Regions from separate parts of the Homo sapiens genome. Here region 2 is linked to region 1. The links are contacts of gene promoters, found by promoter capture Hi-C in blood cells and fetal thymus (Javierre and others, 2016). All regions are on one chromosome and are shown on one strand. The core of a region is centred on a gene start or on the middle of the fragment in contact, and the rest is flanking DNA. Distances in the headings are between cores, read along the strand shown. Region 1 holds the start of RPS4Y1 (ribosomal protein S4 Y-linked 1). Region 2 overlaps ZFY (zinc finger protein Y-linked).

Evidence for each region. Contacts are between HindIII fragments. The CHiCAGO score rates a contact against its expected background, and 5 or more counts as called.
Region 2: a contact is called between a fragment that was not itself captured here and the fragment with the promoter of RPS4Y1 in region 1, in 1 of 17 cell types (naive CD8 T cells). The highest score is 7.0, in naive CD8 T cells.

What each region holds. Positions count from the first base shown.
Region 1 is chrY:2,840,086-2,847,262 of GRCh38, forward strand. It overlaps RPS4Y1 (ribosomal protein S4 Y-linked 1), which reads left to right and starts at 1,517. Exons shown (of 7, transcript NM_001008.4): 1 at 1,517-1,542; 2 at 2,080-2,157; 3 at 3,992-4,172; 4 at 5,561-5,658. The coding sequence starts at 1,540. The HindIII fragment of the contact is 6,443 bases long and covers 1-4,613 here.
Region 2 is chrY:2,970,045-2,976,804 of GRCh38, forward strand. It overlaps ZFY (zinc finger protein Y-linked), which reads left to right. Exons shown (of 8, transcript NM_003411.4): 4 at 5,051-5,200; 5 at 5,467-5,610; 6 at 6,626-6,760. The region is part of intron 2 of ZFY-AS1 (ZFY antisense RNA 1); the gene reads right to left. Among named protein-coding and RNA genes, the nearest start is that of ZFY-AS1, 29 kb to the right of the region's middle. The HindIII fragment of the contact is 5,375 bases long and covers 1-4,641 here.

The DNA of each region.
Region 1 (7,177 bases), core at 267-2,766:
TGAACTCCCAACCTCAGGTGATCCATCTGCCTCAGCTTCCAAAAGTGCTGGGATTACAGGTGTGAGCTGCCACACCCGGCCTCTACCTTTCCTGTTACAGTTAAATTGTGTATTTAGTGAAAGGCTGATCAGAGACCCAAAATAATGCAACCATTTGTCTCTTACGACATCAAACTCTACCTTCCCACTGCCCCAGCCCCCCACCAAGCCACCCCAATGTCCTGCACCATGTACATCTTACATCTTGCCTTCCTAAAATGTATGAAACCAACCTGTGCACTGGCCGAGAGAGAGAGAGAGAGAGAGAGAGAGAGAGAGAGAGAGAGAGAGAATAACCAGAAAGGAACACAAGGAAACTTTTGGAGGTGATGGAGATGTTCATTACCTCGATTGTGATGGTGGTATCGTGGATTTACGCCTATGTCCATACTCATCAAATTGTACACATTAAGGAAGTGCAGCTTCATTTGACTGGTTGTTTTTTTGTTTTAATTTAATTTAATTTAGTTTATTTTGAGACGGAGTCTTGCTCTGTCACCCAGGCTGGAGTGCAGTGGCGCGATCTCGGCTCACTGCAAGCTCCGCCTCCCGGGTTCACGCCATTCTCCTGCCTCAGCCTCCCGAGTAGCTGGGACTACAGGCGCCCGCCACCACGCCCGGCTAATTTTTTGTATTTTTATTTTTAGTAGAGACGAGGTTTCACCGTGTTAGCCAGGATGGTCTCGATCTCCTGACCTCGTGATCCGCCCACCTCGGCCTCCCAAAGAGCTGGGATTACAGAAGTGAGCCACCGTGCCCGGCCTGGCTGGTTGTTTTTTGTATATCAATTCTGTCAGGCGGACGCGCGTGAAAAATTCCAATGGAAGCTGTGACCACACACACGCCTGCGCAGTACAACTTACATAGCGGACTTCACTCTCTTAAAAGTGAATTGTTTTGCAGGTTTTACGACATGGACAGAGCTGTGCAGCCATCATCACGAGCTAATCCAAAGCAAGGTATTCGACTTAAAATTCAAATGCCATGAAACCTATCCTTTCAATGTTTACGGTACAGACGATTTTAGTACTTTCCCAAACCTATGAAATTGGCCCCAATCCTGAACAAGGAATGATTTGTCTCTGAAACAAATCATGATTTTGCAATCACAGCATGTCACAGTCACAAGGAATCATATAGGTTATTTCTCACGATTGGCATTTTTTTTTAAGGCTCCTAAATCGTGCTGTTTCAGGACTTTTGCTAAATATTTTGAAGGTCGGCGAAAGATAAGTTTAAGAGTGTAAACTGCGTCCTCCCAGCTCAGCCAACTTGACGGGGGGTAGGCACAACAAAAAGTCCTGCGGCATAACTGACACCTGTAAATCAGTATCAGAAACTGAAAATGCTAAGAAATTCAGTTCCAGGATATGAACTCTACAGCGGAAGAATAAGAAACCGGAACTAAACTTCTCACTCATCTGACTTCCTGCGGTTTACGACAACAGACTTTGGTTGCACCGGAAAAGAACAGATTCTCTTCCGTCGCAGAGTTTCGCCATGGTAAGACCGATAGTTCCTAACTCCTAGTATATCTGCCTCCATCATTTGAAAAAGGGCCGTTCTACCTTGGCGATGTTTCACTTTTCGGTCGCCCCTACTTGGTGGGTGGGAATGCTGCTGGTGCTGCTTCAGGAAACCCGATTTGGAGAGGGGAGGTCTGAGAAGAGTGTGTCTCGTTGTGCTCGGTCTGGGGGCCGTCACGTGAGTCCATCCTTGACGCAGCCCGGCAGTGGCTTTTTACCCGGATTAGCTTATTTTCACACGTTGAAGCAGCCTCAGATTCGCTTGGAGAGCACTGTGGACGCTCTCTTGACGGATGCTAGGGAGACCCGCCAAGTTTTCAAAGGTCTGTGCTTTGCGTGGTCTCTTCTGGGGTCTGGCAGGAAGTAATATTTGTTCAAAACGGGGCTTGAGTATGGGCTGGGCGATCTTTTCTCCTTGAGTCAGGTATTACCCGTTAGCAGTTCCTACAGCTGAAGATGAGGGCATTTCACTGTCAGCGGAAACTAATTTCTCTGAGTTTCGTGTCCTTTTCAGGCCCGGGGCCCCAAGAAGCACTTAAAGCGTGTTGCAGCGCCGAAGCATTGGATGCTTGACAAACTAACGGGTGTATTTGTGAGTATAACTTTGTTTTTTGTGGTTTTTTTTTGTTTTTTTTAGTCAAGAGTGCATGCTAAATACCTGTGGCTCGGTATTTCTTGGGGGCGGCGTTTGCTTGTTTGTTATGTGGGATTTTCGTTGGTAAAGACTTCCCGCACCCTGAACTTGTCCTTGCACTTTTCTGTGCAACAAAGGGCCAGGATGTCACGTCCCGATGGTTTCCTTTGCTCTTTTAGCTCGCCACTTCAGAGGGCACTTCCTGAGCCCAGAGCTGGGTGGGTTAATGAATGTGTCCAATTCCACATAAGAAAGGAGTTCAGTGACAGTCCGCTGAGTCCCCCATTAATAATCAAATGCGTTTAATTTAAAGTTACCCCTTGTTTTAGAGGGTGGAGTAGCTGCTTTTTACGTTGAGCCCGAGTTACTGGTTTAATAGTAAAGGCTACAGGAGCCCACGAAACAAGGGCAAGAAGTTGTGTGAGAAAGTCTGGAGGCTCTTGAACCCAACCTTGAAGACCTGGCAGGATGAGGGCAGTATACTCAGAGGCACAGTAGGCAAGCATCTCACAAGGAGACTAGGCAATTTCCACATTGATGGTGTGGTCACACTAGGAGAGAGTGGTTAAAACTGTAAAGTCTTGGTCTTCTGAGACAGAGAGGAGCCAGTGTGAAGAAGACAGAATCGAGGCGCTTAAGATGCCAAGGGTTTTTTGAGCAGGAATAAATGTGGTAAGAGACTATATTTAGCTCTGAGGGTCTCCATTTAGGAGGCACTTAGTAACTAACTTGATTTGGCCTCTTCTTGGTACAGTTTGAACTCTGAACACTGAGTAGTAGAAACTTGTCTTCCTTGTTCTGATATTTTCAGAGAGAACATAGGCAGTGTGTTGGCTGGGGACCTGGATTTGCAACCTGTCCCTGTCAGTTTCTGCTTCCAAGTGCTACCTCTGCTACTGTCACCTACTATTTGACCTCCCTGGATGGGCCATTGTTTTCTCTATTGTTAAGTGGATGAGCAAGGCACTCTTTAAGAAGACTTGCTGGGAACTTGGTCCCTTAGTCTTGTGGGTTCCTCTCCTTTTCCCTGTGACATTGATGAAAGTGTGTGGTTAATGATCGCGAGTCCGTTTTAAGAGAGACAAAGCTAGAGAGGGATCTGTAGAAGCAGCTTGAACGGTCTCCATTGGAAGAGATTCTTGTGTGATCCAAACTTAAAAGGTAATTGGGGAGTGGTGTTCAAGACAGACCTTGAGACTTTTATATGTACTGGTAGCAGATATCCTAAGGACAGTATAACACCAAAACTGCGAGAGTATAGGTTACAGGATTTGTTGCGGTGTGAATTTGATGACACTTAAGCCGGCAAGCAGCCAAGAGAGGAGGAACGCACATTGGGTATTACAGGGTGGTCCTGCAACATCGGCAGGGCTTGTGTGGAACTTTGAAGCCTGGCATGGTGAGAGAGTAGTAGAATATGTCTTCATAAGGTTTTGGGTAAAGCGTAAGCTACACTTGAGATACATGGGATGTAGTGTTGTGTTCAAGGGAGGTTTGAAGAAGGAGTATGAGTGGCAGTGGTGCTTGGGGCAGGGCAAAATGGGGAGATGGTTGTGAGGCTAGATTTGGGGAAGGAAGGGGCACAAAATGAGATTTCCATGGTTGGGGATATGACCTTCCTAACAAGACAGACCTCTAAACTAATAAAATAATTGCCCTCTTGTATTCCTCTTCCCCACAACAAGTTAAGTTCAGCTGAACTTATGCAGAACTAAAGTACGTCATCTGCTCAATCTGGTTACATAAGGAGTGGATCTTCTTAGATTAGGTTACCTTTCCTTGTCTTCTACAGGCACCTCGTCCATCGACAGGTCCCCACAAGCTGAGGGAATGTCTTCCTCTGATCGTCTTCCTCAGGAATAGACTCAAGTATGCGTTGACTGGAGATGAGGTAAAGAAGATATGTATGCAACGTTTCATCAAAATTGATGGCAAGGTTCGAGTGGATGTCACATACCCTGCTGGATTCATGGGTAAGGAAAGAGTTCTTTGTTTTGTTTTGAAGAAGGAACAGGTTGAGAGAAGGACAAGATGTAGGGCTCTCATGTTGCCAGTGATAAAACTGGACACTGAACTTCAGATTTCTGCAGAAGTTACTGCTGGTCCTTTCAGAAGGAGAATGAGGGATAGGGAGAGGAGTGGCAAGGCTCAAGTGAAAAGCTGGAAAGGGGTTGATAATGTAAATGGGATGAGGCCAGCAGTGGCTGCATGCTGGCGGATTATCAAAGTTAGGCTCCTACCTTCCCGGCAGAGACTGGGAGACAGAGGAGCTGTCCTTAGGTGTTGGCTGGAACAAACAGTAAATTCTTTTGGCAGCCTTGAGTTTTCTCAGGCAGGCATTTTGAGGCAGACTGGGCTCATCTTGAGCTTTTAGAAGCTGTGTTAGTGTTGAGGTCTTCATAGGTCAAGGTTGAAGCTTAGCCAAGAAGAGGGCTCAGAGGAAACTGGCTAACGATTGGTCAAGGAGAGAATCTTTGTCAGTGAACAGGGTTTTGGCTCTGTCTTCCCACTTCGTTGATGACTTAACTATTCTGGATCTCCAAGGATGGATTTGCAGCTTTTTTTGGCGGGGAGGGTGGAGGAGGGGCAGAAGGGTCACACACCTCTAGGGAAAAAGTGTACCAAGAGGGAAGGTAGGGAAAGGTAAGGAATTCTGACCTAGTGCTTTGTTCACCCTTTTCATGGTGAAAGGCTCAGTACAGCTTTTTAGCCTAGCATTGTCCAGAAAGCAGGGGGATGATTACTTTGTCAGGTGTGGATGCTACCGAGTGGATGGGGTTCCAGGCCGGACATTCCTAGGATCCAGCCACTGAGTTAGAAAAGACAGACCTTCCTTTTCTTACTTTCCTTCCTTCCTCTTTTTTTTTTTTAGCATTTTGCTTTGTTTCTCAAAACCCCAAATCCTGAGTGAGGCAGGACTCCTGATAAGCGAAGTCATGGAGGGCGTAAATGGGGCCAGGACATTGATTGGGCAGCCTGCTGAGCCTGGAGCCTTGCTTGCTTAAATGTGAGGTCTGCTTGTTCATTTGGTTTCCTGGTATTTGTGGGTGTGCTCATGTATGTTTTCTCCTCAGGATCCTGAGTGCGTTAACCCAGCACACAGTCTCAAGCAGCTATTGCACAAGAACATAGGAAGCAATAGAGCAGCCATAAATGTATTCACTTTCTTTTGTTGGATGACATGTATTGGGAGAGGAGCAGGGGTTGGTTGGTTTCATTCAAGCACCTCCGCCAAGCCCTGGGGACTCCTAGGCTGCTAAAACGTTCTCAGGTTCAACCTGGCATAGAGTGTTCCTGCTGTGCAGGCAAAAGAAACTTTGTGTTTGTGTTAACGATGTTCCTTATACCCTTTTGTGATCAGATGTCATCAGCATCGAGAAGACAGGTGAACATTTCCGCCTGGTCTATGACACCAAGGGCCGTTTTGCTGTTCACCGCATCACAGTGGAAGAGGCAAAGGTATGTTGCACAAGTCAAGTGAGCTTTGTAATTTCCAGACAGATAGGTCGGTTGCTAAGTTTGTCAGAGGGTGTTTAAGCCAGATTCCGGGAATATTTCCTATCTCTACTTGTTTGTCTGGTTGTTTAATCCAGGCATGTAGGTGCACACTGATAGAAAGTAATGGATTTTCCACACAAGACTGTTTTAGAAACGGGATTACAAGTAAGGAGTTCTCTGAAGGACAAGATATTTCTGTACAGGAAAGATCTGTGATATTGACCAGGAAGGCCTGGGTAGAAATCCAGATTTCTTGTCATTGATTAATTGTGTAACTGCAGGCAACAGTACATAGAACCTTTTTTGAGTCTTTGTTTTCCTTGTAAATGGTGATAATATGCTTTCCTGCCAGGTTTCTGTGACTATGTTAGTAGTAGTGCTGCCTTGCACTTGCTAGACATAGAAGATGATTGACTGCCTGATGTCTGCCTCTGCCCTTAAAACTCCCTCTTCCCTCCCCAGATTTAATGGCTGAAGTTTCAAGGAAACTTTCAAGGGAGTTGCTTTCTGTGTGGACAGCACCTTCCATTTTTCTGTGTAGGGAAGACCTCTTTGGAAACCAGGATCACCCTTCAGTCATCCATTCCTCTTTTCCCTGGATTTAGGGTCATGGGGTGACTTTGTTTTTCACATGACCCAATCACTTACAGTGACCAGATGCCATCTGAATATGAGATGCATTCTGTAAGTGAATCACAACGTTTCATTGGATGTTGTTTCTACTTAGTTTAACCAGCTTGCCTTTTTCTCTGTTATTTCTCTGGGGGAAACACATTAGAGTCCCTAAAGGAATTGACAAATATCGGTTGTTTGGTTGTTTCTGACTTATTTGGTCGTGTCCCTTGATGCAGGGTCCATTCTGTTTTTGTGGATTCGCCCACAGGAGGTACTTTGTTTTAGATGATAGGAACTAGGCCTTGAATCATGCAGTGTGTTCAGTCGCGTAGGGTGTTGGATTCTTTTGTACCTAAAAGGTAGAAAGCACAGAGGAAATCAAATCTGATGACTGGTTTCTGCTTTTGTATGGAATTTGGATCTCAAGAGACAATGCAGATTGGTAGTCCCTGTGAATTTTTAAGTAGGGGGAGATGGAGTGGGACAAGGAGATACTGGAGTGTTGTTAATACCTAGTACTGGCCCTACCAGATTGGCCAGCCAGGGTGTAAAAACCTTGTGTCCAGGAGACTATCGCATAGTAGCGAGAAGTGCCAAATGGTTGCCCTGGGTTACGGTATTGGCCTTATCCTTGTGTAACAGGTGAGAGACTTGGGAAGTTTTGATTGAGCTTATTTGTTTGCTGGTTGTTTCTTTGGGCAGCTGGAAGGGAGCATTCCCTGTCACAAACCCCACCCAGTTTAGCTTGGCTTGAGCCAAGGACACAGCGAGTTCAGAGTGGAGAATCAGAGGCTCCTGGGACGTCAGTTATGTCAGGGACACACCAGGGAGCCTTTTCATAGTTTATTAATCCACCAGGTAGCAT
Region 2 (6,760 bases), core at 704-3,203, 130 kb after region 1:
ATATTAAAGTGGATCATCTCAAGAAAAAGCTATCTTTTAGGGCAAAGTTGAAGAAGCATAAGGGAATAAATAATAAAATAGTATTGTTTAAATTTGGGGCCCATGAGATATTGAGGACAATAATACTGTAAAGACCAAAGGAGTTTGGGCAGATTTTGGTTGCTAGACTGTGCAATTTGTATTTTACTTGGTAGGAAAAGGAGTGCTAGAGACTAGGGCTGGAGGGTAAAGTAACTGGATCTTTCTTTTAAGAAGACAGAAAATTGATACCAATTTTCTTGATACCATTGATACCAATGTCAGGGTGTTTGGTTGGAAACCTTAGGAGAGAGAAATCAGGTAAACTGTTTGTTTCTGAGGTTGGTGGTAAATGAACTTTAACAACCTGGTTTTGAAAGATGAGACAATTTGAGTGGAGAGGCACAAGCCATGTTCTTGCATTGTAAGACTGCAAAGCAAAAGAATAGCAACGTTTTTATGATATTAATTTAGACAAAATGCAGTCCAGTGGAAATCCAACATCCAATTTTTTTTGTCAGCAAAACTGTAATTCTTTTTCTGAGGAAAACAAAGAGAAGTGAGATAACATGACTAGCTAAAAATTAAGCTGTGAATTATAAAGACAGACATCCTTCTCATTTCCTCACCTCTCCCTTTCGTAGCTGATTGGCTTGTGTTATTACAGCAGGTTTTACTAGCATTATTGGAATCTTTAACTCCCTAGCTTGTTTCATGCCCTTCCAATTACCTCTCCAGCTTTTACTACTTAGGTTAATTTGTGAATTCTTTCTTGCCCCTGCCTTAAATTGTAATCTCACTGGGACTGTGATTTTCTTTACACTCATGATTTCTTTACAGCTCATGATTTTCTTTACACTGCAGTTTGCTGATGGCTTCCAAATTGGTGTTGATCTTCAGCTTTCAGAGTTGAATATTCTGTAGGTGGCTTCATATGTCATTCATTCCGTCTTCTCAGTTTATTCTTAAATATGACCCAACTCCAGCCTTTATCCCAATTTATACTACCTCTGTCCTGATTCAAGGCTTCATTATCTGTCACCTAAATGTACTTGAAGCTGTAGTGCCCTGCTTCATTTCTTGATCTCTTCAAATCTGCTTTTTTATAAGGCCAGCAGGATGCTTTGGCAAAAATACTGATCTTAGTGACTGGTCTTTTTAAAAGCAGAAATTATCAGATCTCTGATAAGAATCCCCAAGAGTAGGATACCTTGAAGTCTATTTTGTATACAAGTTCATTCCATACCTGCAGATCTGGTTTTAATCAGATTGAGAAACTTGCAGTCTACCAGAATTAAGTTTGAGCCCCTCTGCCTGGTGCATAAAGTCCTCCATGACCTGGTTTTGCTTTACCTGTAGTTCACATTTCCCACTATGGCCTAATTTGCAGCAGTATTGAAGAACACACTCTCTTACTGTCCTGTCCCCCTACCTGCTGTATCCTTTGCATAGAATAAGTGCCATTCTCTTCCAGTCTACATAACGTACCTTCACTTTTTTTTGTGGCAGCTGTTATTGCACTTTGCAACATTTGCCAAAACGTTTCTGACTCCCCAGCCTGTTTTATAGTAACACTCATATGGACACCTTGAAAATTTATAAAATATTATTTCATTGGATGAGAAAATGAATCAATTTTAATAAAAATAATTTACACCAATGTTAACATTAAAGATTGCACTAGAGTTCAAAATTAGTATATTTTTATGTTTAAAGAAATTTTAGGCCAAGTGCAGTGGCCTGAGCCTGTAATCCCAGCACTTTGGGAGACTGAGGCAAGTGGATCACTTGAGGTCGGGAAGTTCAAGACCAGCCTGGCTAATATGGCAAAACCCCATCTCTACTAAAAATGCAAAAATTAACAATGCTTGATGGCAATGCCTGTAATCGCAGCTATTTGGGAGGCAGAGGCAGGAGAGTCACTTGAACTTGGGAGTTGCCGTGAGCTGAGATAGCGCCAGTGCACTCCAGCCTGAGTAACTGAGACTCCTATCTCAAAAAAAAAAAAAAAAAAAAGAGAGATTTTAACTTTTTCTTCTAAGTAATCTTTTAAATTTACTTTAAGGAATCAGGTAGTGTCTAAGTGACATTTTGTTTTGAAGACAAGTGTATATTAAAATGTGATTTGCCAATGTTACTGTATCCAAAATAGACAAAAAAACTCTTTTCCCCATTGTTTTGGGTTCTTACATCTTGTGTTTAAGTAGTTAAGTTTTAGTTGCTTTTAGTAGCCCAGTGTTTCAAGTTCTCATATTGTAGGTTAAGTAGTTAGATTTTATAATATCCGTGTTTGTAACAAGGAGATGCTATTTGAAAGTAGTCCATAATTTCTAGTAAGAAACTAAATTATATCGTCATTGTATTTTTGTTTTTTTTATGTTGGCTTTAGATAATTTTGATTAGACAAATATAGTTTTGGATCTTTTGAAGAACAAGACGGGGAATTTGAAAAGTATGCAGAGATTTCAAAATCTAAATTCTGTGTTTATAAGCCACTGCTGAAAGTTAAGACTAAGAATTTAAAACCTAAAATAGTCAAAACTATTACCATTGCCTTTTGTAAGTAATGCTTATTGTAGTTGAGTTGTGAATACATTTATCTGCTCTACACTAATGAAAAACATCTTTTGTTATACTGTTCTTTATTTCTTACAAAAAATTATTATTGCCTCTAACAATTTAAACTTAACAGCATTCTTCAAACACCAGAGGTTGATGGTGGTTTCTTGTGAATTACATGGATCAAGATTTGAATTCTGGTTTTGCCAGTTACTAGATGTGTGACCTTAGATAAATCATTCAAGTTTTCTAAACTTCAGTTTGCTTTACTGTAAAATGTCGACAGTATTATAGCACTTCCTCATGGAGTTATGAGTATTAAGTAATGCTTTCAGTAATCACTTAATAAAAAGTAACTACATTATTATGATCACATTTTAAAATAATCATCTGTTCACCTGTCTGCTTTTTCACTGAATTACAAATTTCTTGGGTCCATTACTTTTTTTTTTTTTTTTTGGAGACAGCCTTTCTCTGTTGCCCATGTTTGCGTGCAGTGGTGAGATCTTAGCTCACTGCAACCTCTGCCTCCTGGGTTTAAACGATTCTTGTGCCTCGGACTCCCAAGAAGCTGGGATTACAGGCATGTGTCATTATGCCCAGCTAATTTTTGTATTTTCAGTAGAAAACATGTTTTGCCATGTTGGCCAGGCTGGCCTCAAGCAATCCACTCACGTCCACCTCCCAAAGCCCTGGGATTACAGGTGTGAGTCACCACGCCTGGCCTTGGGTCAGTTTCTTTTAAAGTTTGCACCTCTAATACTTGCCCAGAGTCTGATTGATAGTTGTGAATCATTGTTTAATTGACTTAAACATAAACATTTAGCCAAAAGGATAATGAAATATATTCAGCAGAGGATTACAAAAACAAAACTAAAATGGGAAAGGGGAAATGAAAAAACTTCTTGGGGTCCTCCTCCTCTGTGGTTGGTCTCTTGCTGTGTCATACTGACCAGGTGGGCCCAGAACAGAGAGAACATTACTTAGTGTTTCTCTAATGGACCAAACATTGAAAAATCCAATTTTTGTGATAAATTAAATTGTACTATGTGCTATGTGTTCATTAGTCTGTGCCACACTTTCTGTTATGCTAAAGATAGTAGTCAGTGCCCACAGTGGTGTGTAGTGTAAGGTTACATTATATGGGGGTTGTATTTTTGGTATTTACTGCAATCCAGAATGTATTTTTTAAGACATTATTTTTTACTTTTGTTAATTTTGAAGTCCCAAGCATAACACCACACTTGATTCCCTTACCGTGTAACACTTAAAAGTTTGTTGTAGATTCCCTGAGCCCACTGTTGGAAATCATATGTTCACTTTATCGGTAAGTAAGGATTCTTTTTTTTTTTTTTAATACATAAACATGAAACAGGCTGCCTTAAGTATTTAAGAAGATACTTAAGTATACATCTTACTGTATTTGCCAGCAGTAGACCCAGACTCATTAGAACTCATATATATGTTTTGTGTGTGTGGTTTTTTTTAAAAATGCATGTGTGTGTAGTGTTAGGTTTGAACAGGTTAATATCAGAATTTACAACTATTTATTTATTTATTTATTTATTTATTTATTTATTGAGACAGTTTCACTCTGTCATCCAGACTGGAGTACAGTGGTGCAATCTTGACTCACTGCAACCTCTGCCTCCCGGGTTCAAGTGATTTTCCTGCCTCAGCCTCCTGAGTAGCTGGTACTACAGGCTCCTGCCACCATGCCCAACTCATTTTTTTGCATTTTTAGTGGAGACAGAGGTTTCACTATGTTGGCCAGGCTGGTCTCAAACTCCTGACCTCAGGTGATCCGCTGCATCGGCCTCCCAAAGTGCTGGGATTACAGACATGTGCCACCATGGCCAGCCAGAATTTATGTTTCTGACAACCATATTTTGATTTTTAAAAAGTTTATGATTCTCATAGAACAGATAAGACAATTGTATTCAGAAGTACTGAATGTTAGGTAATGCTCATAAAATATATTAGGACTAGTGTGTACTGAATTTACTAGTAGGACATTATTTTTCAGATCTTCAAGAACATTGGTAAGCTGGATGCAGTGGCTCAAGCTTGTAATCCCAGCATTTTGTGAGGCTGAGGTGGGAGGATTGCTTGAGCCCAAGAGTTGGAGATAAGCTAGAGAAAACCAGTGAGACCTTGTCTGTACAAAGAAATAAAAAAATTAGCTGAGCATGGTGGCATACGCCTTTTGTCCCAGCTACTCAAGTAGGCTGAGACAGGAGGATTGTTTGAGTTCTGGAGGTCAAAGGTGCAGTGAACTATAATTGTGCCACTGTACTCTAGCCTGAATGACAGAAAAAGAAAAGACCCCATCTCAAAAAATAAAACAGAATACTTGTAATATTGTATGCTTTTACTTTATGATAAACAAAGATGACATATGTCCTTTCATTAGTTTTCTTAAGTTTTAAAGAATCTGCTGTTATGGTTGATGATATATTTTCTGCCTTTTCAGTGGATGATGCTGGCAAAATAGAACATGATGGTTCCACTGGAGTGACCATCGATGCAGAATCAGAAATGGATCCTTGTAAAGTGGATAGCACTTGTCCTGAAGTCATCAAGGTGTACATTTTTAAAGCTGACCCTGGAGAAGATGACTTAGGTAAGAGGAAGCTGTCAGCATTTTATACATTGTCATCCAAATGTTTCAACCAAATGGTGTCAAAAAAAGTAAACAGGTTACTTTTTTTCATTGATACTTAACATTTAGTTTAGGTTATTTAGATTGGAAAATTTGAACTCTTTTCCAAAGACAACTTTTAAGACATATTTTTGAGTTAGTAATATAAAAATACACTAAAACGTGTAAGCAAAATATGTGAAAATGAACTCTCAAATAATTTTTGGAGCTTTCATATTCTCTGATAGGTGGAACTGTAGACATTGTGGAGAGTGAACCTGAAAATGATCATGGAGTTGAACTACTTGATCAGAACAGCAGTATTCGTGTTCCCAGGGAAAAGATGGTTTATATGACTGTCAATGACTCTCAACAAGAAGATGAAGATTTAAGTATGTGGCTTTTTAAAAAAAAATTTTTACTTTAAGTTCTGGGGTACATGTGCTGAATGTGCAGATTTGTTACATAGATATACATGTGCCATGGTGGTTTGCTGCACCTATCAACCCATCATCTAGGCTTTTAAGCCCCCCATCCATTAGGTATTTGTCCTAATGCTCTCTCTCCCCTTGCACCCCACCCCACAGTGGGCCCCAGTGTGTGATGTTCCCCTCCGTGTGTCCATGTGTCCTCATTGTTCAGCTCCCACTTACGAGTGAGAACATGTGACGTTTGGTTTTCTGTTCTTGTGTTAGTTTGCTGAGGATGATGGTTTCCAGCTTCATCCATGTCCCTGCAAAGGACATGAGCTTATTCTTTTTTATGGCTGCATAGTATTCCATGATGTATATGTGCCAGTATGTGGCTTTTTTTGTGGGAGAGGGTTTTATGTTTCTACAAGGTGTGTTTTTTTTTTTTTTTTGAGACAGAGTCTTATTCTGTTGCCAGGCTGGATGGAGTGCAGTGGAGCAATCTCCGCTCACTGCAGCTTCCACCTCCTGGGTTCAAGCAGTTCTCCTGCCTCAGCCTCCCAAGTAGCTGAGACTACAGGCACGTGCCACCACACCCAGCTAATTTTTGTATTTTTAGTAGAGATGAGGGTTTCACCATGTTGGCCAGGATGGTCTCGATCTCTTGACCTCGTGATCCGCCCACCTTGGTCTCCCAAAGTGCTGGGATTACAGGCGTGAGCCACTGTGCCCTGCCCAAGCTGTCGTCTTTTTTTTTAATGTAACCAATATTTGAAAAAAAATAAGCAGCGCTGTTGTAGAGATTACTGTGTTGCCGTATTCCAAGAATAGATATCAGTGACTATGTATGTTTTGATAGTTGCTTTATAAACTAATTATGGTGAAAGCCAAGAAACGAATAATTCAACCAATGTTTATTTTTTCCTACTAATGAATTTTTTCTGTGTGATCTCTGTAAACCTAGTCACAAAAAATTTTTTATTTATTTTGTGCTTAGATGTTGCTGAAATTGCTGATGAAGTTTATATGGAAGTGATCGTAGGAGAGGAGGATGCTGCTGTTGCAGCAGCAGCAGCTGCTGTGCATGAGCAGCAAATTGATGAGGATGAAATGAAAACCTTCGTACCAATTG